Linked DNA regions of Homo sapiens: region 1 is linked to region 2. The links are contacts of gene promoters, found by promoter capture Hi-C in human tissues and cell types (Jung and others, 2019). All regions are on one chromosome and are shown on one strand. The core of a region is centred on a gene start or on the middle of the fragment in contact, and the rest is flanking DNA. Distances in the headings are between cores, read along the strand shown. Region 1 has its middle 47 kb from the start of KLRG2. Region 2 holds the start of PARP12 (poly(ADP-ribose) polymerase family member 12).

Region 1 (7,048 bases), core at 1,375-3,874, 630 kb before region 2:
AGTCCCCGCTTCTCAAGATAATCACTATTCTGACTTCGGACACCACTGGTTAGAACCACTTTAGGTGCTTTCTGTGGTTCCTCCTTGTATTTGTTTTCATAGTTCTAAATAATGTTTATACTGCTGTTTCTTGGCTTGCCAACTTGGGACAATGGTAGCTTTCTCGAATAGCAGACCAGACTTTCACTCAGTCTCCATCCTCACCAAGTAAAACAAAAATGTTCCAGATTTCCAGGCCCCGGGATCACTCCTACCACTACCTTGGCTTACTCAGATTGAATCCTGCACCTGGGAGGAGTCTGAGTACCTGTGGTGTGTGGTTTTTTTTTTGTTTGTTTGTTTGTTTGTTTTTTTGGAGATGTAATTTCTTGTTGCACAGGCTGGAGTACAATGGCACAATCTTGGCTCACCACAACCTCCACTTCCCGAGTTCAAGCGATTCTCCTGCCTCAGTCTCCCGAGTAGCTGGCATTACAGGCATGTGCCACCACACCCGGCTAATTTTGTATTTTTTAGTAGAGACGGGGTTTCTCCATGTTGGTCAGGCTGGTCTCGAACTCCCAACCTCAGGTGATCAGCCTGCCTTGGCCTCCCAAAGTGCTGGGATTACAGGCGTGAACCACTGCGCCCGGCCTTTTTTTTTTTTTTTTTTTGAGATGGAGTCTTGCTCTGTCACCCAGGCTGGAGTGCAGTGGCACATTCTCGCCTCACTGCCGAGAATGCAACCTCCACCTCCGGGGTTCAAGTTATTCTTCTGCCTCAGCCTCCTGAATAGCCGGGATTACAGGTGCCTGCAACTACACCAGGCTAATTTTTGTATTTTTAGTAGAGACAGGGTTTCAACCATGTTGGCCAGGCTGGTCTCGAACTCCTGACCTCAAGTGATCCCCCGCCTCGGCCTCCCAAAGTGCTGGGAGCACTTCAGTGTGAGCCACCGCGCCCAGCATCACGCCCAGCATCACGTGCGTTTTTTAACCTCACAGGCGATTCCAGCCAGCACCTGTCCCTGGGGAGCCCTGAGCCTGTGGTACTTGGCCCTGAGGCTGGGAGGAGCTGAAAGGCTCCTGATGTCCCAGACACAGGATGTTTGCTGTGAGGAGCTTGGAAGTTAAAATAGAGTATGTTCTCAGACTGCCAGGTTAATTTGCAGTTGGAATAAGAAGCAAGCCGTGAGAATCACTAAAGTGTTTCTAAGATTTTTATTGCTTGTCAAGTACATCCTTTAGGGCTCCGCGTCTAAATATTTAAGATTCCAGCTTTGCTCTTATCAGAGCTCAAATGTGGCCACAGTTCTCCCACCCTTTGCCTGGTCATAATTCAGAACCAACTTATCACCATGGTTTGTTCTCATTCTCCTTCTCTTACTCCCAACCAGTGACACCCGGGCTTCTGCTTACAGCTGGAGGCACTGGCCACCTACCTTCCTTCCTTGGCTGGGAGCATCAACAGCCAAGCCCCTTTACACGGCAGTCATCTTGATGAGTTGCTGGGGCCAAAGCCTGCCCTCCCTCCCTCTGTAAGCAGTATGGATTCCTTGTGGCCTTCTGAGCCTTCTCCTTGCTACTCAAGAGTTTCCAAATCAAAAGACTTGCAGCCTGTTCCTGTTTTTTAAAAGTATTTATAAAAGCTGAATGTCAATTTTCTACTTAGAGTTATAAATAGAAGCAGATGCTCTGGTTTGTTGATCAGCACGCTGTGTTCTTACAGGGGAAGTCAAAGAATCCGAAGTGTGCTTGGAGCATAGAACTAGCGCAAGAGGGCGCTAGTGAGGCGGTGCGGCGCGGGCGGCCAGGAGCTAGGGTTTGAAAACAGACTTCGGTTTGAGCCCTGAATCTGCCACTTAGAAGCTGTGTGCCCTTGGGAAGCGATAATAATACATTTACCAAAGTCAGACTAGATAACCCCAGCACTGAGGAGTTATCCACATCATCTCTTCGTCCTTCACAACAATAAATCTATAAGCTAGAAGTTACCATCTCCAGACTTACAGATGAGATTGCTGAGGCTTAAAAAAGTCAAAAAGGTACTCAAGGTATCATGATAGGGCCTGGGGGAGTTGAATGTAGTTTAGATTAACCCCAGGACCTACTACTTTATTTTTATTGCGTTTATTCAAAGGCAAAACCTGTAAGAGATGCCTAAAAATGATAATGGCTACCTTTCTTAAAAAAACTTTATTGAGATTTAATTTTCCCACAATAAAATTCACCAATTTCGGCTGGGCGCAGTGGCTCACGCCTGTAATCCCAGCACTTTGGGAGGCCGAGGGGAGTGGATCACTTGAGGTCAGGAGTTCGAGACCAGCCTGGCCAACATGGTGAAGCCCCATCTCTACCAAAAACACAAAAAATTAGCCGGCATGGTGGCAGGCACCTGTAATCCCAGCTATTCGGGAGGGTGAGGCAGGAGAATCGCTTGAACCCTGAAGGTAGAGGTTGCAGTGAGCCAAGATTGTGCCACTGCACTCCAGCCTGGGTGACAGAGCGAGACTCCGTCTCAAAAAAAAATCACCAATTTTAAGCATACAGTAAGTTGACAAATGTATCCCACCACTGCAATCATGATATAGAATAGTTCCATCTCCCCACAAATTCTCTCCTGGCCTCTCCCAATCCTCTCCTCAAACCTCTGGCCCCGGCAACCACTGATCTCTCTAGCATGAGCTTTATCTTCTCTAGAACTTTATATAAATGGAGTTATTGGCATACAGACTTTCATGCCGACTTCCTTCCCTTAACACGATGCTGCTGAGACTCACCCGTGCTGTGTGCATCAGCACATCCCACCTTTTCACATTGAGTAGAATCCATTGTAAGGGTGCCCCGCCGCTTACCCACTTAAAGTCATGTGTTTATTTGCTTTTTGTGTATCTTTTTGGTGAAGTGTCTATTCAGATCTTATATAGGGCCTGTAATTTTTTTTTTTTTTGAGATAGGGTCTTGCTCTGTCACCCAGGCTGGAGTGCAATGGCACAATCTTGGCTCATTGCAACCTCCACCTCCCATGTTCAAGTGATTCTCCTGTCTCAGCCTCCCAAGTAGCTGGGATTACAGGTATGCACCACCATACCCGGCTAATTTGTGTATTTTTTAGTAGAGACAGGGTTTCACCATGTTGGCCAGGCTGGTCTCGAACTCCTGACCTCGAGTGATCTGCCCACCTCAGGCTCCCAAAGTGGTGGGATTACAAGCATGAGCCATTGTGCCTGGCCGGGTCTGTACTCTTAACCCGCACACTCTACCTGCGCATTTTTTTCCTCGAGTCTCATCTATTAAATGGAAATAAAAACGCAAGCATGGAAGAAGACTGCTGCTGTTCCGTCTGCCCTTCCCCCACTGTCTAGGGAACCCCCCCCTTCACACCTCTGCAGTCACACGAATGTTTTAGTCAATGTGGACGTTTCCACACTGGTAACAGTGACAGCTTAGTGGTCCAGAGGCGGGTGCCTGAGCCTGTTTAAAACAATCCCAGTCCTTCCTTGGGACTAGTTTCTAGCTTGGACTGGCTGTTCTCTTGAACTGAGGATGTCACGGAAGTTGACAGCTGTTAGTGGCCATGTGCCGCCATGATAAAGCTGGCCACCGCAGAAGCAAGTGACCCAGGCACAGGAAGAGGGGTCGAGGCAGGACATGAGGAGCCCGGCTCCAGCCAGTCCCAAGCCCAGTTGTATCCCTACTCTTGGCCTCTCTAAGGCCCTCCTGAGTCTTCTAATCATTTCTCTTTCTTGCGTAGGCAGCTTGGAATTGGGTTTTTGTTACTAAAAGCCAAACTAACCCACTAATGTACTGGGTCATTGTGGAAATTCCATGCGCTCTATATGTAAACTGTTCACACACACTACCTGGGGCATGGCAGAGTCACCACAGATGTTGGCTACGACACTGCCAGGTGGCCAGTCCCAGCTAGAATGGCCAGGCACTGGGTCCTGCTGCCCTCACTTCACTCGGTGTCCTTGGATCCTCACAGCCTCACCCGGACTGTGTGTGCAAGGACCTTACGGGTTTGAGGTGAGGCCGGAGCTTGACAGGGGACGAAGAACAACTTAACACCCTGTGAAGTGGGAAATGCCATCTGTGAGAAAGACGCCACTGTGCAGAACTGACAGACCCAGCCTCTAGACTCTTCCTACAGATATTCAAGAAATGAATGATTTGGCCAGGCGCAGTGGCTCATGCCTGTAATCCTAGCCCTTTGGGAGGCCGAGGCAGGTGGATCAGCTGAGGTCAGGAGTTCAAGACCAGCCTGGCCAACATGGCGAAACCCATCTTTACTAAAATACAAAAATTAGCCAGGCATGATGGCGGGTGCCTGTAGTCCCAGCTACTCGGGAGGCTGAGATGGGAGAATCGCTTGAACCCAGGAGACGGTGGTTGCAGTAAGCCAAGATTACACTACTGCACTCCAGCCCGGGCAGCTGAGGGAGACTCCATCTCCAAAAAAAAAAAAAAAAAAAAAAAAAAATTCATCATTAGTTTGTTTGTTTGAGACAGAGTCTCGCTCTGTTGCCCAGGCTGGAATGCAGTGGCATGATCTCAGCTTACTACAACCACTGTCTCCCAGGTTCAAGCAATTCTCATGCCTCAGCTTCCTGAGTAGCTGGAATTACAGGCATGTACCACCACACATGGCTAATTTTTTGTATTTTCAGTACAGATGGGGTTTTGCCACATTGGCCATGCTGGTCTCCAACTCCTGACCTCAGGTGATCCACCTGCCTCAGCCTCCCAAAGTGCTGGGATTACAGGCGTGAGCCACCGCACCCGGCCATCATTAGTCATTTTTCTACGAGTTATTAGGCATAAATTGTGAAACATTCACAGGAGGGATTGTGTGTTTGAGATCATCTCTGGTCCAGTTCTTTGCCTCTCCCTGCATCCATGCCCTTTGCCACCTGAGCCTGCAGCTTCATCTACTTCAGGACTGGCTGGACTCCCCCACCCCTGCCCACTGAGTTTGGCTGTTTCTGTGGCTCCAGCTAGTGGCCTGTTGGGGAAAGAATGGTGTGTCAGTTCTGACCTAGGCCTCAAAAGGCCTGCGTGTTTCTTTTGGCTCTCTTGCCATTGTCATAAGACTATGTCTGCCTATCCCAGTAGCTGGAGGACAATGAAGGACACACGGAACAGGGCTGCTCCAGCCAAGGCCGGGCTAGAGAAGGCCACCCAAGCCAACTTGCAGATGTAGGGGAGCCCAGCTGAGATTGGTGGAGCCGGCCAAACAAACGTGTATTGTTCAGAAATGCAGTTTTATTTATTTTTGAGATGGAGGTGTCTCACTTTGTCACCCAGACTAGAGTGCAGTGGTGTGATTGTAGCTCACTACAGCCTTGAACTCCTGGGCTCAAGTGATCCTCCCACCTGAGTAACTGGGACCACAGACATGTGCCACCATTCCTGGCTATTTTCCTTGGTATATACAGGGTCTTGCTTTGTTGCTCAGGCTGGTCTAGAACTCCTGGGTCCAAGAGATCCTCCTGCCTTAGCCTCCTAAAGTATTGGGATTAGAGGCGTGAGCCACTGCACTGGATCAGAAATGCAATTTTAAATGAGATACCACCATACACCGATCGGTAGGGCTGAAAGTAAAAAGACAACACCAAGTGTTGGTGAGGACTTGTAGCACCTGGACTTTCATGCATTGTTGGTGGAAATAGAACATGATACACCTTCTTTGGGAAACATTTTGGCAATTTTTTTTTTTTTTTGAGATGGAGTTTCGCTCTTGTTGCCCAGGCTGGAGTGCAATGGCGTGATCTCAGCTCACTGCAACCTCCACCTCCCAGGTGCAAGTGATTCTCCTGCCTCAACCTCCTGAGTAGCTGGGATTACAGGCATGTGCCACCACACCCGGCTAATTTTGTATTTTTAGTAGAGACGGTATTTCTCCACATTGGTCAGGCTGGTCTCAAACTCCCAACCTCAGATGATCCCCTCCCCCCCCCCACCCCGCCCCGCCTCGGCCTCCCAAAGTGCTGGGATTACAGGCGTGAGCCACCATGCCCCGCGTGGCAATTTCTTAAAAGGTGAACTATATACTTAGCACCTGACCCAGTGATCTAATCCCCAGGAATCCGGGAGAAATGAAAACACTTCCATACAAGTACTTGTACTGACATGTTCATAACAGCTTAATTCATAACCACCCCAGACTGGAGACAAGACTAATGTCTATCAACTGGTGAATGGATAAACACATTGTAGTACTGTGTGCCCATACAACAGAATGAGCTGCTCATATGTGCAACATGAATTTCCAGAAGCATTATGCTGCATGCAATGCACATGCTGTGTGACTCCGCTTCTACGAACTCTACAACAGGGAAGATGGACGTGGTGGAACACATCAGGACAGTGTCTGTCTCTGGAGTGGATGTGGGGTCATGGGGAAGGGCCTTGAGGGAGCTTTCTGGGGGGCTGTCAAGGGGAAACAGTTCAGGTGGTTGGAGCAGGGAGAGACCAGGGCGTGCAGTTAGAGGCGAGGTTTGAAAGGTGGGTGAGGCCAAGTGGCAAGGGCCTTGTGTGCATGATCTGCTTCGGCTGTTATCCTGAGCAGAGCAGCCGACACTCATGAGGGTTCCAGGCTGGGCCAGAGACTCAGTCTTCCTCTTTTTGCCCAAGCTGCCATCCCTCAAGACACTTAGTAGTTCCCTGCTTCCTCCCCAATTTCTGGCACGTGATGCTCTGGAAACGTAAAGCTTGCAGGGTAACATGAACCTCCTGGACCCCTGCCTCAGCACAGGAGGGGATGCAGATGTTGGTTGGGAATAGCGGACACAAAGGTGATGGGTTGGTTTCCCAGGACTATCGTAACAAAGTATCTCAGACTGGGTGGCTTAAACAACAGAACTTTTTTTCACCAACCTGATGCTTTTGTTTAAAAAAAATAATTAAAAACAATTAAAAAAAACCAAAAACCCAGAAATTTATTCTGTCACAGTTCTGGAAGTCAGAGTCCAAAACCAAGGCATGAGCAGGGCCATGTTCCCTCTGATGGTGCCGAGGAAGGATCTGTTTCTAGGCCTCTCTCCTGGCTACTGGTAGCATCAGGCATC
Region 2 (6,505 bases), core at 3,447-5,946:
TAATCCCAGCACTTTGGGAGGCCGAGGCAGGAGGATCACGAGGTCAGGAGATTGAGACCATCCTGGCTAACACAGTGAAACCCCGTCTCTACTAAAAATATAAAAAATTAGCGGGGCGTGGTGGTGAGCGCATGTAGTCCCAGCTACTCTGGAGGCTGAGGCAGAAGAATGGCATGAACCCGAGAGGCGGAGCTTGCAGTGAGCCACTGCACTCCAGCCTGGGCAACAGAGTGAGACTCAGTCTCAAAAAAAAAAAAAAGAAGAGATTGGGGCACAGACACACACAGAGGGAAGACCATGCGAGGACATGGTGAGAAGGTGGCCATCTACAAGCCAAGGAGAGGGGCCTCAGAAGAAATCAACCCTGCCACCTTGATCTCAGACTTCTAGCCTCCAGAACTGTGACAAAATCGATTTCTGTCGTTTAAGCCTCCTAGTCTATGGTACTTTGTTATGGCAGCGCTGGCAAACTGAAAGCTGATAAAATCAGTCTTCATGACAATTTTTCAGAAACACTTCCTGACAGTATTTACAAGCACCAGAGAAAAACCAGCATGTAGGCTGGGTATGGTGGCTCACGCCTATAATCCCAGGACTCTAGGAGGCCAGGGTGGATGGATCACTTGAGGTCGGGAGTTCGAGACTAGCCTGGCCAACATGAAGAAAACCTGTATCTACTAAAAATACAAAATTAGCCGGGCGAGGTGGTGCATGCCTGTAATCCCAGCTACTCAGGAGGCTGAGGCAGGACAATCGCTTGAACCCAGGAGGCGGAGGCCGTGGTGAGCCAAGATTGCGCCATTGCACTCCAGCCTGGGCAACAGGAGCGAGACTCTGTCTCAAAAAAAAAAAAAAGAAAGAAAAAAAGAAAAACCAGCATGTCTACATGACAACAACAAAAAATCCAATGTGTATTTACCAAGGAGGAGATGGGGCCTTGCAAGGTCTAAGGCCCAGGACAGCGCCTCTGAACAAGCATTTGATGAGAATGACAAAGAGGAGTTGCTGCACAGCAGTCAGTCGGTAAGCAGTTAGCCACAGGCTGAATCAATGAGCATGGCATCTTATCATTATAGGTTACATATGTGCATGCGTGCAGGCGTGTATACACACACACACACACACACACACAGAGCCCTGAACCTAGCTTTTTTTTTTTTGCTCTCTTCCTCCATTCTTTCCATCCACAAGCGTCTGATAAGCACCAGGGTGAGCCAGACATTGGCACCATGCCCTGAGAACCCAAAGATAAACCTTTAAATGACTGCCTGAGTCACCAGGACCCAGAAGAGTCAGGCCAACAGCATTTGTTTGACTCTGGCACTGCCATGCCTCCTATGCCACATCTCAGGAGAATGCCAAACCCTGATCCACCCCAAACCTGCACCTTTTACAGAATCCCCCAGCTCAGTAAAAGGCAACTTCCCTCTCCCACTGCACAGACCAAAAACCCTGAAGCCATCCTTGCCTGCTCTCTTTCCCTCATCTAGCGGAGGTGACAGACATAGAGGAGACTCTGATACGGAGTGGAAAGTGCAACGTCAGCTGTTGTCAGAATCTGTCAGCGCAGAGCGGAAGGGCACCTGAGCCAGTCAGGGCTGGGAGAGAACTGGGGAAGAAATCAGGGGAGCATGCTGGATGGCATAAAGCCTGAGTGGAATACTTAAAGGGTGAGGAGGAGACAGCAAGAGAAAGGAAGAACATTCCAGAAGAGGGGCAAATAATTTGGTGCTGCCAGAGCCAAATATATCTAATAAGTGTAACGATGACTGATGGTAACAATGATAATGACTACTAAAATTTATTGAGCAACTGCCAAATATCGGGGATTGCCAAAATGTTTTATGAGTTAATCATTCAGTCCTCAACCAGCCTGTGAGGGTAGTAATATCATTAACTCCACTTTGCAGATGAGGGAACTGAGACCTGGAGGTAAAGTCACTTGCCCGAAGCCATCAGCTAGCAAGGAGCAGAGCCCAGGTTGAAACAAGGTGGGCTGGATCTTGGGACTGTGCCCTAGACCACCAGGCTCAATGCCTCCTGAGTAGAGGACTAAGAGTCAGGCACCCAGGACTCCGTACCAGCTCTGCAGCAGGACTGATGAGCTATTTCTAAAAGAACTGACCCTGCGGTTCAGGAAGACAAGCAGAGTCACAGGGGAAGCAGAAAAGTGCAGCCAACCACACCCACTCTCCCTAAAGTGAGTCAGAAATGGAAGGTTCAAGAAACTCACCTGTGTAAACCACAAGGAAAAGAGAAAACTGAAGAAAGAAGAAAACTCAAGGTCATCTGAGCCAGTAAATATCACACTACAGATTTCCGAGACAAGTCAGACCTGACCCCACATTTTGGGAACTAGCTTAAGAACAGGGCTGCCATCTTTATTTTACCAAATATGAACATGAAACAGATCTACCAGTTACCCCCATGAGTGGCTCTATCCAGCCACCATTTGCTGTGTGCCTTCCTCCTCGTGGGCTGTTGTTCCCTGCTCTCCCCTGGACTGCCTCATCCCTGAAGGCTGATTTCCCCAGAGTTCCACCCTCAGCCTCTTTTCAGGCCTCAGACGCTACCTCAGATCTGATCCACTCCTGGGGCTGCAACTACAACATACACCGCCCAATATCTCCCAAACCAGCCCAGCGCATTGGGGCCCTGGCCTTCCTCCCAAGCTTCTGACCTGAACAGCTGCCTCCTGGGCATGCTTCCAAACTAAAACCCTCTCTTGCTCTCTCAGTGAACAACACCCAGGCCACCGCAGGAACAGAGACTGAAGAGTCGTCACCTCTCACATATCCTCTCATCACACCGTCACCAGCTATCCCAAATTTCTCACACACATAGCCCTTGGAAAGCTCTAATCTAGATACTTCCAGACAGCTGCTTCCTAGAGGCATTTCCCAGTCACCCTGCATCTAGACAGGGTCACGAGACAGCTTCTGGTCAATGGGATGTGGGTGAAAGGAAATCCACCACTTCTAGACCTGGCCCACAAAAACCTCCCATGCATCCCTCTTTTCGATCAGCCCCCTCGAACTTGATAACCTAGGCTGGCCTCAAGAGCCATGTGCTGAGGGGCACAGAGCGGAGGTCAGTCAGCCTGCATCCCTGAATGACTGTATGGATCAAGGCCCCCACCCCATGCTCACTACTGGGCCTGACATGAGCAAGAAATATCTACTCTATTAAGACAAACATACACACACACACACAAAACAGGGAGCAAGCAAGAAAGGAGGGAGCAGGGGAGGAAGGAATTCTCCTTGATGACTAGCTTCCCAGTGGTTCCCCCACAACATCCTCCCTTAAATTGGCACCCACACCACTACCTTAGACTTCCTAAAACGCAAACCTGATGGTTGCTCTCTCCTGCCATTTTACCCGCCCCATCACCTCCAGGGTGAGGCCCAAATTCTTTAGCATAAACCTCAGCAATCCCTTCCACACATCCCACTGGCCACATGCTATGCACAGAACATGGACGCTAAGTGCTGGGGAGACAGCTGGAGCCTCTGCCCTCAGGGAGTTTCTATTCTACTGGCAGCTGGGTGCCATGAGGAAAATAAACAGTTCCCTGTGACCAAGAGTAAGGGGAGGAAAAATCCTCAAATGGGATGTGATCTTTAGGTTGAGGCCTGAAGGATTAACAAATAGGGCCAACCAAGAGCAAGAAGGGCATTCCAGGCAGAGCAAAGACTCCCAGAAATGCCCAGGCTCCCAGAAATGCCCGGGGGGGGGGGGGTGTTCCAGTCACAGAAGGGTCCTGGGTGGGCAGGGACCAGTGCCCCAGGACCTTGTGGGCGATGGCAGGGAGTCTGCATTTTCCAGTTTGTAAGCAGATTAATAGGGTTGAACTGGGTTTAAAGATCTCTACCAGCTGCTGGGCAGAGAAAACCTTCATTGTCTGGCCTCAAAGCTGGCAAGGGGCGACCCGCGGCGTCGTGGAGTTCCCCTAAGCCGCCGCCTCCCTCCCTCCCCACCCCACACGGCCACACCCGGGTGTTCCACCCGGCACTACCATGCTCTATGTAAATCACTCTCTCCCCCCAGGCGTCTAGAGGACCCCACTCGACCCTGAGTCCCTCGCACTGTGCCAGGTACTCCGCAGGTGCTCATTAAACGCTCGCTTTAGTGAATGACGGTGCGAGGTCAGGGCAGAGCCACCGAATTGTCTGCTCAAACTTCAAGTAGGACCCCCAAGCGGGCTGGAAGTGCGTGAGGGCGCGCAGGACCTCCGCCCGCCGTCGCTCCCGGCGCGGCGCCTTACCCGGCTCTCAGGAACTTGCAGGCGCCGTAGACCATGAACCTGCAGAGGTGGAGCTGCGCGCAGAGCCCCACGCAGCCCGGCTTGGAGCCCTGGTGCGCGCGACACAGGCGCAGCGGCGAGGCGGCCAGCACCACGCGCTCCGGGGCCGCGGCTGCGCCGCCCGCCCGCACCGCCACCACGAAGCGCCCACGCTGCCGCAGCAGCCGCTCCAGCGCGTCGGCGCTCAAGCCCATCCGCAAGCGGCGCCGCAGCTCGGGCAACTCCAGGGCGCCCCCGGCCGCGCACAGCACCTGGGTGACCTCACCGACGACGCCGGCCTGGGCCATGGCCGCTGGGCCTGCTCCCGTCGGACCGCGGGTGGCGCGACGCGGACGGCGGCGGACGCTGGCTGGCGGGCGGCTCTCGCAGGGTGGAGACGCCGGCGGGAAACGAAACCGAAAGCGGCCCCGGGCCGGCGAAAAACAGAACCTGTGCGCCCTCGCCACGCCCCCGGTCCGCAGCTGAGCGGCTGCGCCTTCCGCCTCAGGGCCCCCAGCTGTGAGGCCGCCGCCCGACGGAAGCTCGGGAGCTCTTGAGCTCGGGCGTTCGGCCCGGAGCGCGGGCTGTGGCTGTGGCGGCTCGCGGGGGTCAGTACCTAGTCCCTGAAAATGGCTTCCCTGGATGTTTGAGGGACCAGGAGCCCCTAATGCCGCGATGCTCAGCGCGCCTTCAGTCAGAGGGAGCCTCGAGGGCGGCGGCAGCGCTGGCGGAGCCGGCTGGACGCCGCCGGTTAAAGCCGCTCAGCGTCGCCCAGGCCAAGCCCGGGCTTCGTAGACGGCTCACAGAAACAGGGACAACTGACGGGAGCTCTCACCCCTCGAACAAGTGACAAAAGCGATCACTCCGCATAGAAGACGCACTTAATTAAAGGTTCCTTTCGCCTCGGTGCATCAATGAGTTCCTTCATTTAAACATAAAAGGGTATGTCCTTTAAAAGAGCAAATCCGTGAGCCGAGATTGCGCGACTGCACTCCAGCCTGGGCGACAGAGCGAGACTCCGTCTCAAAAAATAAAATAAAATAAAATAAAATCCGTTACTCCCAGCCCCTGCTAAGTAACGATTGAACAAATATTTTAGAAGACCCTTCAGAGCAAAGGACCCTCTCACACGCTGAGAGCAATGCGAGTTGTTAGAGCCCTTTGAGGAGGTAATCCAGGAATAGCTATTAAAATTGAAAACGCGTGTGACCTTTGACCCAGCAATCTTTCCTCTCGGAATCTTCCAGAAGTAAAAGGAACAGTAAATAAGTTATGTGTGAAAGTGTTACTGGGGGAACCCTACCTGGGAGGTAGGGTTACGTGGGAACAGTGTGGTTGATCTTTAAAGACTATTACGAAGGCTGTTTAACAAGCATGCGTTAGAGCTCCGTGTGCGGATGTAGAGGGGCAGACAGCCATGATGTGGTGGTAAACGAGAAAAGATGGCTGTACAGAAATGTCTAAATAATCAAGTTGAATGATCAAGAATTAATTTTTTTAAATGTCTGAATAACAAAAAGAGAAGCCTGTGTGTGTGTGTGTGGCAGGATATTTTTGAATAAGCACGGAGAAAGATGAAGAAACACACAAGGGTAGTTGAGAGGAGGCAGTAGGAGGTATTAGGAAAATGGAAAAGGGAAGATGAGAGGCAGAAGGATTGTGGGGGGAGAGTACTTACGGTATACGGTATAACATTCACTAAAAATGAATATAAAAATCTTAACTATAGGCCAGGCACAGTGGCTCACGCCTGTAATCCCAGCACTTTGGGAGGTCAAGGCGGGCGGATCACTTGAGGTCAGTAGTTTGAGACCAGCCTGGCCAACGTGGTGAAACCCCGTCTCTGCTAAAAACGTAAAAATTAGCCGGGCGTGGTAACGGGCGCCAGTAATCCCAGCTACTCGGGAGACAGGCAGGAGAATCGCTTGAATCCGGGAGGCAGAGATTGCAGTGAGCGGAGATCATGACACTGCACTCCAGCCTGGGCGACAGAGTGAGACTCCATCTTTAAAAAAAAAAAAAAAATTACCTGTACTATTACTACAAAAATGTAAATAATAAGTGTATGGATAAAGACTAGATAGTAACATGGACAAATGAAAATGAATTTATTTAATTAGGAAATTGAATGAAGGGTTTTCTCTTGGATTTTAATTGTGATTTTAATGTTTTCATTGTATAAAATGTTAATTTTGTTTTTGTTATTGTTTTAGAGACAAG

What was found. The method cuts DNA at HindIII sites, captures the fragments that hold promoters and counts their contacts. A contact is called where the count stands out against the background at its distance.
Region 1: a fragment that was not itself captured here is called in contact with the fragment with the promoter of PARP12 in region 2 in 1 of the 25 tissues and cell types used here (lymphoblastoid cells).

What each region holds. Positions count from the first base shown.
Region 1 is chr7:139,432,992-139,440,039 of GRCh38, forward strand. It overlaps a transcript of KLRG2 not described here. Among named protein-coding and RNA genes, the nearest start is that of KLRG2, 47 kb to the right of the region's middle. The HindIII fragment of the contact is 9,179 bases long and covers 1-7,048 here.
Region 2 is chr7:140,058,255-140,064,759 of GRCh38, forward strand. It overlaps PARP12 (poly(ADP-ribose) polymerase family member 12), which reads right to left and starts at 4,697. Exons shown (of 12, transcript NM_022750.4): 1 at 4,268-4,697. The coding sequence starts at 4,593. RefSeq lists a silencer at 4,305-4,624 and an enhancer at 4,635-4,844. The HindIII fragment of the contact is 11,268 bases long and covers 1-6,505 here.